Linked DNA regions of Homo sapiens: all the other regions are linked to region 1. The links are contacts of gene promoters, found by promoter capture Hi-C in human tissues and cell types (Jung and others, 2019). All regions are on one chromosome and are shown on one strand. Each heading gives the region's core, a stretch centred on a gene start or on the middle of the fragment in contact. The rest is flanking DNA. Distances are from core to core; before and after follow the strand shown. Region 1 holds the start of TSPYL5 (TSPY like 5). Region 2 has its middle 98 kb from the start of SNORD3H. Region 3 overlaps LOC101927066 (a long non-coding RNA gene). Region 4 overlaps CPQ (carboxypeptidase Q).

Region 1 (3,517 bases), core at 622-3,121:
CAGGTGACATCTCAGCTGGTGACCCCAGACCCACAGAACAGGAAGTTCTGGCTGATGACTAATACCATGTGCACTGGCTTCATTCTGCAGTGGCAATGGAAACGCTTGCATAGATGACATGCATGGCCAGCATGAACACGAAGCCCAGCAAGTCACTGGCCCTGAAGGAGCAGAGCTTGAGGATGCACTGGTCGTCCTGGAGGATGACTCATGAGTGTCCATGTTAAAGACAAGTAGGAAAGGCCAGAGCCAAGAACAAGGTCCAGGCAATGTAGATAACAGGGAGCACACATCTAAAGTATGTGTGCTTAACATATGAACAGTCCGGGTGCGATCACATAACATGTGACACTAACGTAGAAAAGCAAGAGGCTATGGGAGGCAAAAGAACATGATCATAAATGCCATATTCTTGTAACTAAAGTCCAAAGGGTCTATAGTACACAGAGGCCAACATGAAGAGAAGGCAGAGAGCCAAATATGTAGTCAACCAGGAGCAGCCCAGCAGGAGGTAGCAGGGAGACTTGTGCAGGATCAGTTGGATTGGCTCACCCCAGGCTGAGTAGTCTCCATTGGCTGCTTTCCTGGACCTTGCCTGCCTTCTTTTTCCTTTCCTTTCTCTACACGAGCCCCTTCACTCAAAAGGTAGAACTGCAAGGGATTGGGCCACAATTCTTCGTTGATTATCTCCACAATCTTGTCAGACTCAATGGAGCTGTGGTTTGAAAACCACCCAAAGAAACTACGGTTGTTTTCTGGGTTTCCCTGGCTTAGGGACTGGAGATCATGCCCTGGGAGCCACTGGATTGGAGTAGAACGAGACACCACCTGGCCAGAAGGACCACACCCATATTCCTTGATGAGCACCTTATTTTGGAAATACGGGTTGCGATCGAAGTAGAACTTGATTTTGTAGCCCAATCTGGCAAGGCCGAGCTCTTCCACTTCCAAGCTGTTTAAGTAGCTCAGTACCTCTTTCTCTTGGCTATTCAGAAAGGATGCTAGCTGGGGATGGTTCTGAAATGCTTGCCCCCAGAAGCCCGGGATATTTTGGATGAGGTGGTTCCTGCGCTCCAAGTGCTGCAGTCGCAACTGCCCAAACTTCCTGGAGAGCCGAAGGTAGGCCCTGTCCGCCTGGGCGTTCATGTTCTCCAGCTTCAGCTGCACGTTCTCCAGCGTATCCATGCTGCCTTCCGTCGCTGGGGGCCCCGACCCTGCATCCCTCTCTTCCTTCTTTTCCTCCCCAGCTGACACCGAGGTATTCTCCCCTGCCGCCCCTTTCTTCTGCCTCCCACCAGCTATGACCTGAGGCCCCCTCCCCGCGGTGCTACAGGTTTCTGGGGCCTTCTTCCCGGCAGGGCCACGCCGGTTTCCAACGCGGGGGGCATTTTTCGGCCTTCCCACGGTTCCCGCTGTTCCCACGAAGACAGTGTCTGCGGCCAGGCGCTCCGAGAGAGATGCGGCCTTCCCCGGGCCGGGCCTGGCCGCGGCCTGCCCGTGGTCCCCCGCAGCTCGGGCCCGCAGCGCGAGGCCACAGTCCAGGGGGAGCCGGCAGGCGGCCTCCTCCCCGAGCCGGAGGAGCTGCGCGGACGCAGCGGCTTCCAGGCCACCCCACCCCGCGCCAGCCTGCACCTGTGCCGCCTGGGTGTCTTCCCCGAGACTCTGGTACTGTGAAGGGTCCGGGTCGCGCGGGGCGTCGTCCGGAGCAGGGCGGACTCGGGCTTTGGCGCGGCCTTTGCCCCGGTTTTTGGCGCGGGAGGACTTTCGACCCCGACTTCGGCCGCTCATGGTGGCGGCGGAGGCAGCTTCAAAGACACGCTGTGACCCTGCGGCTCCTGACGCCAGCTCTCGGTCGGGACCGAGCGGGTCTCTCCACGGCAACCGCCGACGTCACGAACGTACAACTGTACCGTCGCGAGAGGACGTGATGCGCCCGGTGATTGGCGCCGCCGCTGCGGCTGCGCAGGAGACGACCCCCGCGGGCGCTCCCACCCCCATCTCGCGCGGACTCGCTTTAGGTCTCGGCGAGTTTCTCTGATATGCGCTCGCGGGGGTGCTGCCATTTCATCTCTTCCGCGCGGGCTCATCGTGCTCTCAGGGTCTCGTTGAACAAGGCAACGCTAAGAGCCATCACCACCTGTCCCCCATCACCTGTTTTCTAAACTAAACATCTTCAGCTCCTCCAGTTATCTCTTGTGGCATCTGTCATGAAGAAAGTGCTCGGGCGTGTGTGTCTCTCTTTGAACACCTTTGCTGAGGGATTTGCTCTGGTACCTTAACTCCAGAGAACGTAAAGGTGGATGCTATAATGCCGGGCGTCAAAGCGATTTGGTACGCAGTAAGATGATAGTAGAAATTATAAAAATAATGGCAACTAGTATTTTGTATCATTTGTGCCAGGCACTTTACTAGGTGCTTTAAATGCATTATCTCAATTTACAAAGGAGGTGTTGATATCATTCCCATTTTCGAGATAAGAAAACTGCATCTCAGAGACACCCGGGCACATTCCCCAGGTTACACAGTAAGGGATGGAAGCACAATTCAAACTCAAGCCCATGGGACTCCGTATCCTATGCCTTATATTTGGAAATGGCAAGTCCTTCCAGACTTGTTCCACTGTCAATTACTGGGCTGGCTCTTAAGAAATCAGCCTTGCTCCTTAACAAACAGGCTTCCGTGGACCACCTGACCACCTCTTCTGCCTGGGAACATCACCCGAGTCCCCCAGCTGCCTCAGTTTACAGATCTGGACTATCACTCTAGGTATAGGACCAGAAGTGAAGACCTGTATTAGAGCTCCTGTAATTGGAGTAAGACAAGAATGTGGTGAGAGGTGAAATTATTATTCAGGGAGCAGATTGAGGTTCAGAAGCAGAGCCTCCACGTGGCACTGCAGAAGCCCTAGAAACTTCTTACACTGTGCATGGAAACAGCCGGACAACCTCCCCCACAGTCCCGGAGGCAGCCCTGGACCACGCTCTTACTAGTGAGGTAATAGGACCATGAACAGTGAGGGGACCTGTGGCTAATGTAAAAATATAAAGAAAAACCTTTTGAGGTGGTCTTTTCAGGCTCAAAGGGAACAAAAAGGCCCTTGTAACCAGCTAGTGGAGAGATAAGCCCAAAAGCCCCGGGACCTCATTACTCAAAGTGTGGTTGTGGACCAGCAGCCTGATATCACCTGAAAGCTTGTTAAAGATGCAGAATCTCAGGCCTTTCCCCAGACCTACTAAGTCAGAATTTGAATTTTAACAAGATCCTGGGTGATTTGTATACACCCCTAAGTTTAAGGAAACAATTTAAAGAGGAATTATTTTTATACAGATGGCCCTATTTTAAGCCGGCCTAATACAAGTGATTCCTCATTTTCTCAAAAGCTCTAGAATAGCCTGCAAGGCCCTGTATGATCTGGCAAGTCTTCTATCTGCCACTACATGAGTTACCTCTCTGACCTCATCTTCTCTCTCCTCTCTCCCACCTCTAGCTACACTGGCTTCCTTGCTGTTCTTAAACT
Region 2 (3,517 bases), core at 490-2,989, 180 kb after region 1:
GACGGGTTGCTGGGTGCAGCAAACCACCATGGCACATGTATACCTATGTAACAAACCTGCACATTCTGCACATGTATCCCAGAACTTAAAGTATATTTTAAAAAAAAAGAAAGTCAAACCTCTACTTGGTCATTGGATAAGTGAGGATAAGCTTAGTTGTCCTTACAGATAGCCACAAAGATTTAGGTGTCTAAAGAACAAGGAGTTTATTCTTTTTCCTGTAACAGTCCAGGTACCCAGGCTGACAATGGCGCTGCCATCTTCAGAAAGTGGCTACCAAGGCCTCTCTGGGAATTGTCATCCAGTTAGCCATGAGAGGAAAGGAGCATAAAGGAACTCACCAGGGAGGTTTTTATGGGCCAGGCCTGACAGCTATACATATTACTTCCATTCACATTCTGCTAGACAGCACTTAGACACCTGGTTAAATCTCAATGTATAGAAGACTAGGAAATGTAATCTCACTGTGACCAGAGAAAGGGCAAATGGATTCTGATGAATGCCTAGTGGTATTTACCACAGCATTTTTCAATTACAGGTCACAACTCAGTGCATCATAAAATCAATCCAGGAAGTAGAAATTAGCACTTTTAAGATGGAGTGGAAAAGAGCAGAGAAGGGAAGAGAACAGAACTGAATGGAATGGGGAGGATGGAAGGGGAGGAACAGAAGGAGAAGAGAGCAAGGGCCTGGGTGGGGAGGGATCAGAGAATATTGCATGTGTAAGGGTAAGTACTGTTTAATGAAATGTGTGTATCAGTTTTGTGTATGTTAATAAGTTATAAGGCAAAATGAATTTCCTCCTGTGGGTCACAGTCAGAAATGTTTGAACGTCCACTTGCTTAATGTATTAGTCCATTTTCACACTGCCGATAAAGACATACCTGAGACTGGGCAATTTACAAAAAAAAAAGAGGTTTATTGGACTTATAGTTCCACGTGGCTGGGGAGACCTCACAATCATGGTGGAAGGTGAAAGGCACATTTCACATGGCAGCAGACAAGAGAAGAGAGCTTGTGAAGGGAAACTCTCCTGTTTAAAACCATCAGATCTTGTAAGATTCACTCACTATCATGAGAAGAGCACAGGAATGACTCACCCCTATAATTTAATCACCTCCCACCAGCTTCCTCCCACGACAGGTGGGGATTGTGGAAGGTGCAATTCAAGATGAGATTTGGGTGGGGACACATCACTTAGTCTCCGTCTCTTCTTAAGTTTGTTATTTAAAAATCTAGGAAAAATAAAAATAAAAAAATCCCAGAAAAATGTGGGGGTTTTTTCTTCCCTCAGCCTACTATTATAATATGTCTCATTGAACAACAAACTAACACTATTCATTATTCACTATAGGGTGGGATTCTGTCTTGGACACCACTGAGTGGGGGAAATACATTCCTTTATTCATCTATTTATCCATAACAAAACAGAACTAGATGTGGAGTTGGAAAACCTGGATTCAGATCCCTGCTGTTAGGCTACTTCATGTATTCATCCCCTTCACAAATACGTATTGAGTACCCACCATGTGTTAGTCACCATGCTGGATGGTGGAGATAAAGCATTCAGCAAATAGTCAAGGTCTCTGACCTCACTTTTCTTTGGAGAGACAAACAATAAACAAGGAAACAAACCAGGTAACTATAGATTATGAAAGGCATATTCTCTTAACCTCTTAGGGCCTCTGTATTAGTCAGGGTTCTCTAGAGGAACAGAACTAATGGAATAGATATAGAGATGATAGAGATAGAGATAGAGATATAAAGGGGAGTTTATTAAGTATTAACTCACATGATCACAAGGTCTCACAATAGGCTGTCTGTAGGCTGAGGAGCAAAGAGAGCCAGTCCGAGTCCCAAAATTGAAGAACTTGAGGTCTGATGTTCAAGGGCAGGAAGCATCCAGCACAGGAGAAAGATGTAGATTGGGAGGCTAGGCTAGTCTCTTTTTTCACATTTTTCTGCCTGCTTATATTCTAGCTGGGCAGGCAGTTGATTAGAAGATGCCCACCCAGATTAAGGGTGGGTCTGCCTTTCCCACCCTTAAATGTATTTCCCCTACTCAGTGGAGTCCAAGACAGAATCCCATCCTATAGCCCACTGACTCAAATGTTAATCTCCTTTGGTAACACCCTCACAGACACACCCAGGATCAATACTTTGTATCCTTCAATCCAATCAAGTTGACTGTCAGTATTAACCATCACAACCTCCATTTTCAAACTTAGAAAATTAGTATTGTATAATCTATACCTCAAAGGTATGTGAGGGTGCTTTGTAAGTGTCTATACCTAGGTAAGGAATTACTTTACTTATTCAACTATGATTTGCTAAATTCTGACCCCATGCCCAGGAGTGTTCCAGGACCACGGAATTTAGTTATTAAGAAATTAAACAACCTTGTTATGAAGCCGCCTCACCTGGTGTTAGGGATTGAATTGTATCTCCCAGAAAAGATATGTTGAAGCCACAATCCCAGGCACCTCAGAATAGGATCTTATTTAGAAATAGAGCCTTTGCAGATGTAGTCAAGATAAGGTCATTAGAGCAGACCTTAGTCCAATATAACAGGAGTCCTTATGATCAGGGGAAACTTTTGGGCTAAGGACATGCATACACAATTCTCAAAAGAAGAAAGACAAATGGCCAAGAAACATCTAAAAAAAGGTTCAACATTACTAATTATCAGGGAAATGCAAATCAAACCCACAATGTGATACCATCTTACTCCTGCAAGAATGGCCGTAATTTAAAAATCACAAAAGAATAGATATTGGTATGGATGTGGTGAAAAGGGAACACTTTTACACTGCTGGTGGGAATGTAAACTAGTACAACCACTATGGAAAACAGTATGAAGACTCCTTAAAGGACTAAAAGTAGAATGACCATTTGATCCAGTGATCCCACTACTGGGTATCTACCCAGAGGAAAAGAAGTCATTATATGAAAAAGATACTTGCACATCCATGTTTATAGCAGCACAATCTGCAATTGCAAAAATATGGAACCAGCCTAAATGTCCATCAATCAATGAGTGGATAAAGAAAATGGATATGTATATATATATATATATATATATATATATATATATATATACACACACACACACACACACACACCATGGAACACTACCCAACCATAAAAAGAAATGAAATAATGGCATTTGCAGCAACCTGGATGGAGTTGGAGACCATTATTCTAAGTGAAATAACTCAGGAATGAAAAATCAAACATCGTATGTTCTCACTTGCATGTGGGAGCTAAGCTATAAGGACGCAAAGGTATAAGAATGACATAATGGACTCTGGGGATTCAGGGGGAAGGATGGGAGGGGGATAAAAGATTACACATTGGGTACAGTGTACACTGCTCAGGTGATGGATGCACCAAAATCTCAGAAATCACTACTAAAGAACTTATCCATGTAACCGAACACCACCTGCTCCCCAAAAACTACTGAAATAAAAAGTAAAACTCAAACTGAAAAAAAGGAAAGGGGAAACTTTGACACTGG
Region 3 (3,517 bases), core at 449-2,948, 160 kb after region 1:
ACCATGGAGAGTGGAACCAGATCATAAATATTTTAGGCTTTGCAAGCCAAAATCCCAAAATCAAGGCCATTATTTATGTAGTACTCATAAGAAAGGACATAAACTTCTACAATTTTTAATTGGTATGTTTTTAAAATACGATAATAGTAACAATTTGGTATAATTTTGTACTACAGGTCTACTCATAAGAATAAATTTTCAACTTTTGATACAAATGTATATGGTACACGTGCAATTTTGTTACATGTATAGACTGCTTAGTGGTCAAGTCAGGACTGTTAGGGTACCCATCACTCAATTAATGTAGATTACAATGCTTGCTGACACCTCGTCTACCTTTGCTCCCTTCTAATGTTTCTCTACACTCAACAACACGAATATATTTGAAATACTTACCTGCTTAAAATACTTCAAAGGATTCCCACTATCCTTAGGTCTGAGACTGACATCCTTAAAAGACCCTTTATTGCCTTTCGATAATCATTTTGTTTTGTTTTGTTTTATTTTATTTTATTTTATTTATTTATTTATTTATTTATTTATTTATTTATTTATTTATTTATTTTGAGATGGAGTCTTACTCTGTTACCCAGGCTGGAGTGCAGCGGCACAATCTCAGCTCACTGCAACCTCCACCTCCCAGGTTCAAGTGATTCTCCTGACTCAGCCTCCCAAGTGGCTGGGACTACAGGTACACACCACCATGCCGGGATAATTTTTGTATTTTTGGTAGAGATGGGGTTTTGCCATGCTGGCCAGGCTGGTCTCGAACTCCTTACCTCAAGTGATCTTTTCGCCTCGGTCTCCCAAAGTGCTGGGATTAGAGGCGTGAGCCACCGCGCCCAGCCTTCGATAATCATTTTGTACCATATTACTTAGCGCTCACTCCATTTCACTTACACTAGACTTACTTATTCTTAGTCACCATGTTCTAACCTGCCTCAGGGCACTTGTACATACAGGTTCTTTTGCATGAAACACTATTCCCTCTCCTCTTGCTTATTTAATATTATCAGAGTTTAGATCTAAAGTACACTGTTGGCTGGGTGCAGTGGCCCATGCCTGTAATCTCAGCACTTTGGGAGGCCGAGGCAGGAGGACTGCTTGAGCCCATGAGTTCAAGACTAGCCTTGGCAACATGGCAAGACCCTGTTTCTACAAAAAAAAATAATAATAAAATAAATAAAAATTAGCTGGGCATGGTAGCACACGCCTGTGGTCCCAGCTACTCGGGAGGCTGAGGTGGAGGATCACCTGAGCCCAGGAGATTGAGGCTGCATGAACCATGATCGCACCACTGCACTCCAGCCTCAGTGACAGAGTGAGACCCTGTCTCAAAAAAAAAAAGAAAAGAGAAAGAAAATAAATGGTCAGTTCTTTAGAGAATACTTCCCTTATGTCTCTTTGTCAACCACACACACAACCATATACATTGCTTGCTTTCATAATACGAGTGTCTTATTTACATTATCATACTACAATTGAAATTGTAAGGTGGCTCTAGAAGTCATTTAGAACTGAGCATGATCATTTCTTCTCAAAACTCTCTCCAGGTCTCACTATCCTGTGATTTGAAGTCTAAACACTTTAGGCTGGAATGACATAGTCTGCTAACTTTTCCCCAATATCCACTCTCTCCTTACTTTTTTTTAATACAACCCTTGCCCTCCCCCACACACACCTACGTTTTAACTGGGCACAAGGTTTTTCAGCTACAGTCTACATTTTCTATGTTTCCATATGACTACTTTCTAGCTAATGAGACGTGAGGAAAAATACTGTGGGCAATGTCTAGATCATCTTCTTAAAAGAAAATTGCTTGCCCTCTATGTCTTTTTTTTTTTTTTTTTTTTGAAACAGGAACTGGGTCTTGCTCTGTCGCCCAGGCTGGAGTGCAGTAGCATGATCATAGTTCACTGCAGCCTCAAATTCCTGGACTCAAGAGATCCTCCCACCTCCCAAGGTGAAGGGACTACAGTCTCAGCCTCCCGAGTGGCTGGGACTACAGGCACGAGCCATCACACCCAGCTAATTTTTTATACATAATATTTGTAGAGACAGGGTCTCACTATGTTTCCCAGACTGGTTTCAAACTCCTGACCTCAAGCAATCCTCCCTCCTCGGCCTCCCAAAGTGCTGGGATTACAGGTACGAGCTACCATGCTCGGCCTATGTCCTCTTTCTTCCTTTCCATGCACTAGAAGAGAGATGGGGTAGGAATGAACCAGATTCAACCATGCAGAAGATATCTCAGGGGACAGAAGCACAATAAAATGAAGGCACGTGGGACTCTGGATACCTCTGTGAAGCAGAACAAATCACCTCCCTGGGTCACCTACCAGCTTGGACATTTACAGGACTTAGAACTAAATCTTCTACCTTGATTTCTATTAAAGTGACCAAACCGATGTACTAATACCAGTACTCAAGGATCTGTGAGTTCTGCTCCTAGTCATCCTACTTCCCCTTCCAGTCCTGCAGGAACCCACAGTCATGCTCCTGAACTTGCCACCTGCATCCTTGCTCTGGCCTTTGACAAGTTGGTTCTGGAAACATCCTCCTATCCTCCTCACCTATTTTTCATCTGTCCAAGTTTACACATCCATTGACATCCAACTCACACTCATTTCACTAATTTAACAAACTCTTTAATATTAAGCACCTACTATGTGTCCAACACTGAATGATTTCTGCCTATAATCTAAGGGCAGCTATTTCTAAATGTCAGCTGTTACATGCAACTCACCTGCCTCTCTAGTGTCAGGTGTCCATTTGGACTCCCTGCTGTGGGCTCTACCCACCAGATTATATCCCTGGGCACCAACTCTATCCAAATCATTGCTGAAAGCATTTCCCGTGTAATAAAGAACTTGGCCTCTGTCTCCAGGTCCTGGAAGGCAGTGTCTAAATCCTTAAAATTTCCCAAATGATAAGAGTGTCTTTGTTATTCATGGTGGGTCCCCTGATAGTTGTTTAGGCTAATGAGGTGACTCATGGTGGACCGTGACTCATGGTGGACCCCCTAGATAGTTTATAATAGAGAGATAACTCAGGATCGGGACTAGCCATACCAGAAAGAACAATGACGCGATCAGAGGTTTGGTGCTTTGAGCCACACGGTATCAGCCCAGCCTTTAGGAAGAAAAGGAAGGCTGAAGATTGAGTTCAATCATATAGCCAATGATTCAATCAATCCTGTCTACATAATGAAACCTTAATAAAAACTCAGAACACCAAGATCAGGTGAGTTCCCTGGTGGTGATACTCTGTCACACTACAGAGTGTCTGTTGTACTGAAAGGTACTGTTGTATCTGGTGTACTGAAAGGAAAATACTTCCTGACTCCACAGGGAGAGGACACAGAAGCTTTTCTCAGAACTCACCTATGTCTATCTTCTCTGGGCTGGTTCTAAATTGTATTCTTTTTGCTATAACAAAACCCACAGTCATAACTGTGCAATTTCCTGAGTTCTATAAGTCCTTCTAGCAAATTACCAAAACTGAGGGGTATAAGCTT
Region 4 (3,517 bases), core at 520-3,019, 150 kb before region 1:
AAATAAAATAAATAAAATAAAATAAAATAAAATAAAATATAAAATAAAATAAAATAAAATAAAATAAAAAATAAAATAAAATAAAATAAAATAAAATAAATAAAATAAAATAAAAATAAAATAAAATAAAATAGTGAGTAAATATAAAAGGCATTTTGGTTTTTAAAATAGCTTGAAAAGTAAATGGACTGTTCAAATAAAAAATAATAAAGATATAATAATGATATAATAGGAAAAAATATATGATAATAGCATAAAAGAAAAGAGAATAAGTGGAAGTATACTATTGTAGAATTCTTAAATATATGAAGTACATATCTAATGAAGACTGTGATAGTTAAAATGCATATTGTAAATGCTAGAGCAACCATTTTTAAAAAATGGTATAGCCAATAAGCCATAGAAAAGATGAGATGGAATTTGAAAAGAAAAACCTCATATGAAATGAAAGGAAGAAAGGAACAGTGAAAGAATAAAGAATAAGGTACAAAAAAATCAAGATGATATAATACAAACTCAATATATCAGTAATTACATTAGGCATAAATAGACTAACCATGCCCCATTAAAAGACAGAAATCGTCAAACTGAATAAAAAAAGCAAGATTCAGTTATATGCTATTTACAAAAAAAATATTTTAAATATAAAAATAGCTAGGTTAGATATAAATGGATAGAAAAAGATATACAGCAAATTCTGTATACGTGAAGGCTGTCATAATTGTACTATCTGAAAAAGTTGGCTTCAAAATAGAGAACATTATTAGAGAGGAGGAGGGACATTTTATAATGGTAAAATAATCTATTCATCAATAAGACACAGTGATCTTAAAAGTAAATTCACTCGCCGAGGTGGGCAGATCACAACAAGGTCAGGAGTTTGAGACCAGCCTGGCCAACATGGTGAAACCCCATCTCTACTAAAGAAAAACAAAAATTAGATGGACTTGGTGGTGGACACCTGTAATCCCAGCTGCTCTGGAGGCTGAGGCAGGAGAATCGTTTGAGCTGGGGAGGTGGAGGTTGCAGTGAGCCGAGATTGCACCATTGCACTCCAGCCTGGGCGACAGAGCAAGACTCCGTCTCAAAAAAAAAAAAAAAAAAAAAAAAAAGTAAATTCATTCAATTACAAGCTTTGAAAACTACATGAAGAAAAAACTGACAGAATTGAAAGAATACACACATCTATAGTTGTGGCTGGAAATTTCAACACTTCTCAGCAGTTGTTAGAACAAGTAGCTGGAAAGTCTGGATATGGAAGATTCAAACAATACTATCAATCAACTTGATCAAATTGATATTACAGAACACTGCATTCAACAACAGCAGGGTGTACATTCTTTTTAAGTGCACATGGGGTATTCACCATGATAGACTATATGCTGGGTTATAAAAGCTTCTCAACAAATTTAAAAGGATTAAAATTATATGAGGTCTGTTTGTTGACCACCATGGAATTGGGTAAGAAGTCAAAAGCATTAAGATATCAAGAAAATTCCCAAATACTTGGAAATTAAATATCACACTTCTAAATAAGCCATAGATCAAAGAAGAAATCACCAGGAAATTAGAATTTATTTGAACCTTATTGATAATAAAAACACAATATATCCCAGTGTATGGGATGAAGCTAAAGCAGTGCTTAGATGGAAATGTGTAGGTTAAATGCTTATGTTAGAAAAGAAGAAAGTTCTAAAATCAGTGATCTAGCTTCCACATTAAGAAGCTAACAACAACAACAAAAATACTAACCTTAAGTACGTAGAAAAAAGTAGAAATCAATGAAATAGAAAATAATAAATAATAGAGAAAATCAATGAATTTTAAAACGGACTTTTTGAAACAAAGCTATAAAACTGATAAACTATCAAGCTGGTCAAGAAAAAAGAGAAGATGCAAACTGGCAATCTCAGGTGTGAAACAGGACACATGACTACACATACGTCATTAAAAGGGCACTAAAGGACTCTAATGAACAAACATATACAAAAAATTCAACAACGCAGATGACATGCATAAATTCCTTAAAAGACAAATTGCTAATACTGATTCAAGAAGAAATAAAAAACCTAAATACTCCTATAAATTAAATGAATTGAATTCATAAGTAAAAGCCTTTACTCAAAGAAAACCCCAGGCCCAGGTAGTTCCCTAATTAATTCTGTGAACCATTTAAAGGATAAATAATAACATGACTATGCAAACTTTAAGAAAACAGAGAAAGAGGTAAATACTTCCCAACTCATTTTATAAGGCGTGTATGACACTGATATCAAAACCAAAGATATGGTAAGAAAACTATAGACCAATATCCTTCATAAATATAGACACAAAAATTCTTAACAAAATATAAGCAAATTAAATTCAGCCATATGTAAACTGGATAATATACTATGTTCAAGTGGCATTTATCTTAGAAATTTAAGGTTGGTTTAATATTTTTAAATCGATCAATATAATTTACCACATTAACATAATAAAGGAAAGAGTATGATCATTTCAGGAGGTGCATAAAAAGCATTGCACAAAATTCAACACCCATTCATAATAATGACTTTTGGAAAATTAGGAATAGTGACAGCTTCCTCGACCTGTTAAAAGGCAGTGATGTCAAATCTTCAGTTTAATTATGAAAGAGTGAATGCTTTCCTACTACGATGGGGAATAAGACAAAGATTCCCGTTCTCACCACTTCTATTTAAACATCATATTGCAAGTACCAACTAGTATAATTAGACAAGATAAAGAAATCAAAGATTACAGATTGCAAAGGAAGTAGTAAAATTATTATTATGAATAAACAACAGAATTGTGTACTGTCAACCTAAATAACTAAAAGAGAGGGGCTCTGTGAAAGAAAGATGTTTATCTGGGAATAGAGCTTTGCAATGGAAATACCTAGGCTGTAGTTAACTATGTGTGTATTCAGGGAGGTAAAGGAAGACAAAGCTTTTTCAAGGAAAAAATGAGGAAGATTACATAATTGTTTTAAAATAATTATCCTTGACTACAAAGATCAATAAGAAGGGTGCGATGGGTACGCTAAAAGCCCAGACCTCACAACTGCACAATATATACACGTCTTCTGCACTTGTACCCACTAACCCTATAATTTAAAAAAATAATAATAAAAAATAGCAAGAGTGACACCTTCTGAGGTTGGACAGGTAGCTGCTGGGCAGATGTACTTACAGAAGTAAGTTTTATGCAAAGTCTTGATGGTCTCTGTGCAAAGTTGTGGTTTTAGCGGTCTTTTTTGTTATCAGGCATGCAAGCATGAGAACCCTCTCTTCGTGACCTTCCCTAGCTGTATTTGTTTGGGTTTTCATAACATTTATGCCTTCATTTTTATTCTGATAACTTTCACAGTACATAGAAAATCCTAAGAAAACTACAAACATATGCTGCTAGAAGCAAGAAGTAAACTTAGCAAGGTCACAATATACAAAATTAAAGTTTATGTCTGTATACTAAAAACTAGCAAATAATATTTTAAAAAATAACATCAAAGAACATG

Evidence for each region. Contacts are between HindIII fragments. The study calls those that stand out against the background at their distance.
Region 2: a contact is called between a fragment that was not itself captured here and the fragment with the promoter of TSPYL5 in region 1, in 2 of the 25 tissues and cell types used here (IMR-90 fibroblasts and stomach).
Region 3: a contact is called between a fragment that was not itself captured here and the fragment with the promoter of TSPYL5 in region 1, in 1 of the 25 tissues and cell types used here (heart left ventricle).
Region 4: a contact is called between a fragment that was not itself captured here and the fragment with the promoter of TSPYL5 in region 1, in 1 of the 25 tissues and cell types used here (aorta).

What each region holds. Positions count from the first base shown.
Region 1 is chr8:97,276,057-97,279,573 of GRCh38, forward strand. TSPYL5 (TSPY like 5) reads right to left here and starts at 1,872. Exons shown (of 1, transcript NM_033512.3): 1 at 1-1,872. The coding sequence starts at 1,788. The coding sequence ends at 535. The region is part of intron 2 of LOC101927066 (a long non-coding RNA gene); the gene reads right to left. RefSeq lists an enhancer at 909-1,410. The HindIII fragment of the contact is 7,330 bases long and covers 1-3,517 here.
Region 2 is chr8:97,454,404-97,457,920 of GRCh38, forward strand. No RefSeq gene overlaps it. Among named protein-coding and RNA genes, the nearest start is that of SNORD3H, 98 kb to the left of the region's middle. The HindIII fragment of the contact is 9,600 bases long and covers 1-3,517 here.
Region 3 is chr8:97,435,599-97,439,115 of GRCh38, forward strand. All of the region lies in intron 1 of LOC101927066 (a long non-coding RNA gene), which reads right to left. Among named protein-coding and RNA genes, the nearest start is that of SNORD3H, 79 kb to the left of the region's middle. The HindIII fragment of the contact is 3,483 bases long and covers 1-3,440 here.
Region 4 is chr8:97,123,140-97,126,656 of GRCh38, forward strand. All of the region lies in intron 7 of CPQ (carboxypeptidase Q), which reads left to right. The region is part of intron 2 of LOC101927066 (a long non-coding RNA gene); the gene reads right to left. Among named protein-coding and RNA genes, the nearest start is that of TSPYL5, 150 kb to the right of the region's middle. The HindIII fragment of the contact is 5,189 bases long and covers 1-3,517 here.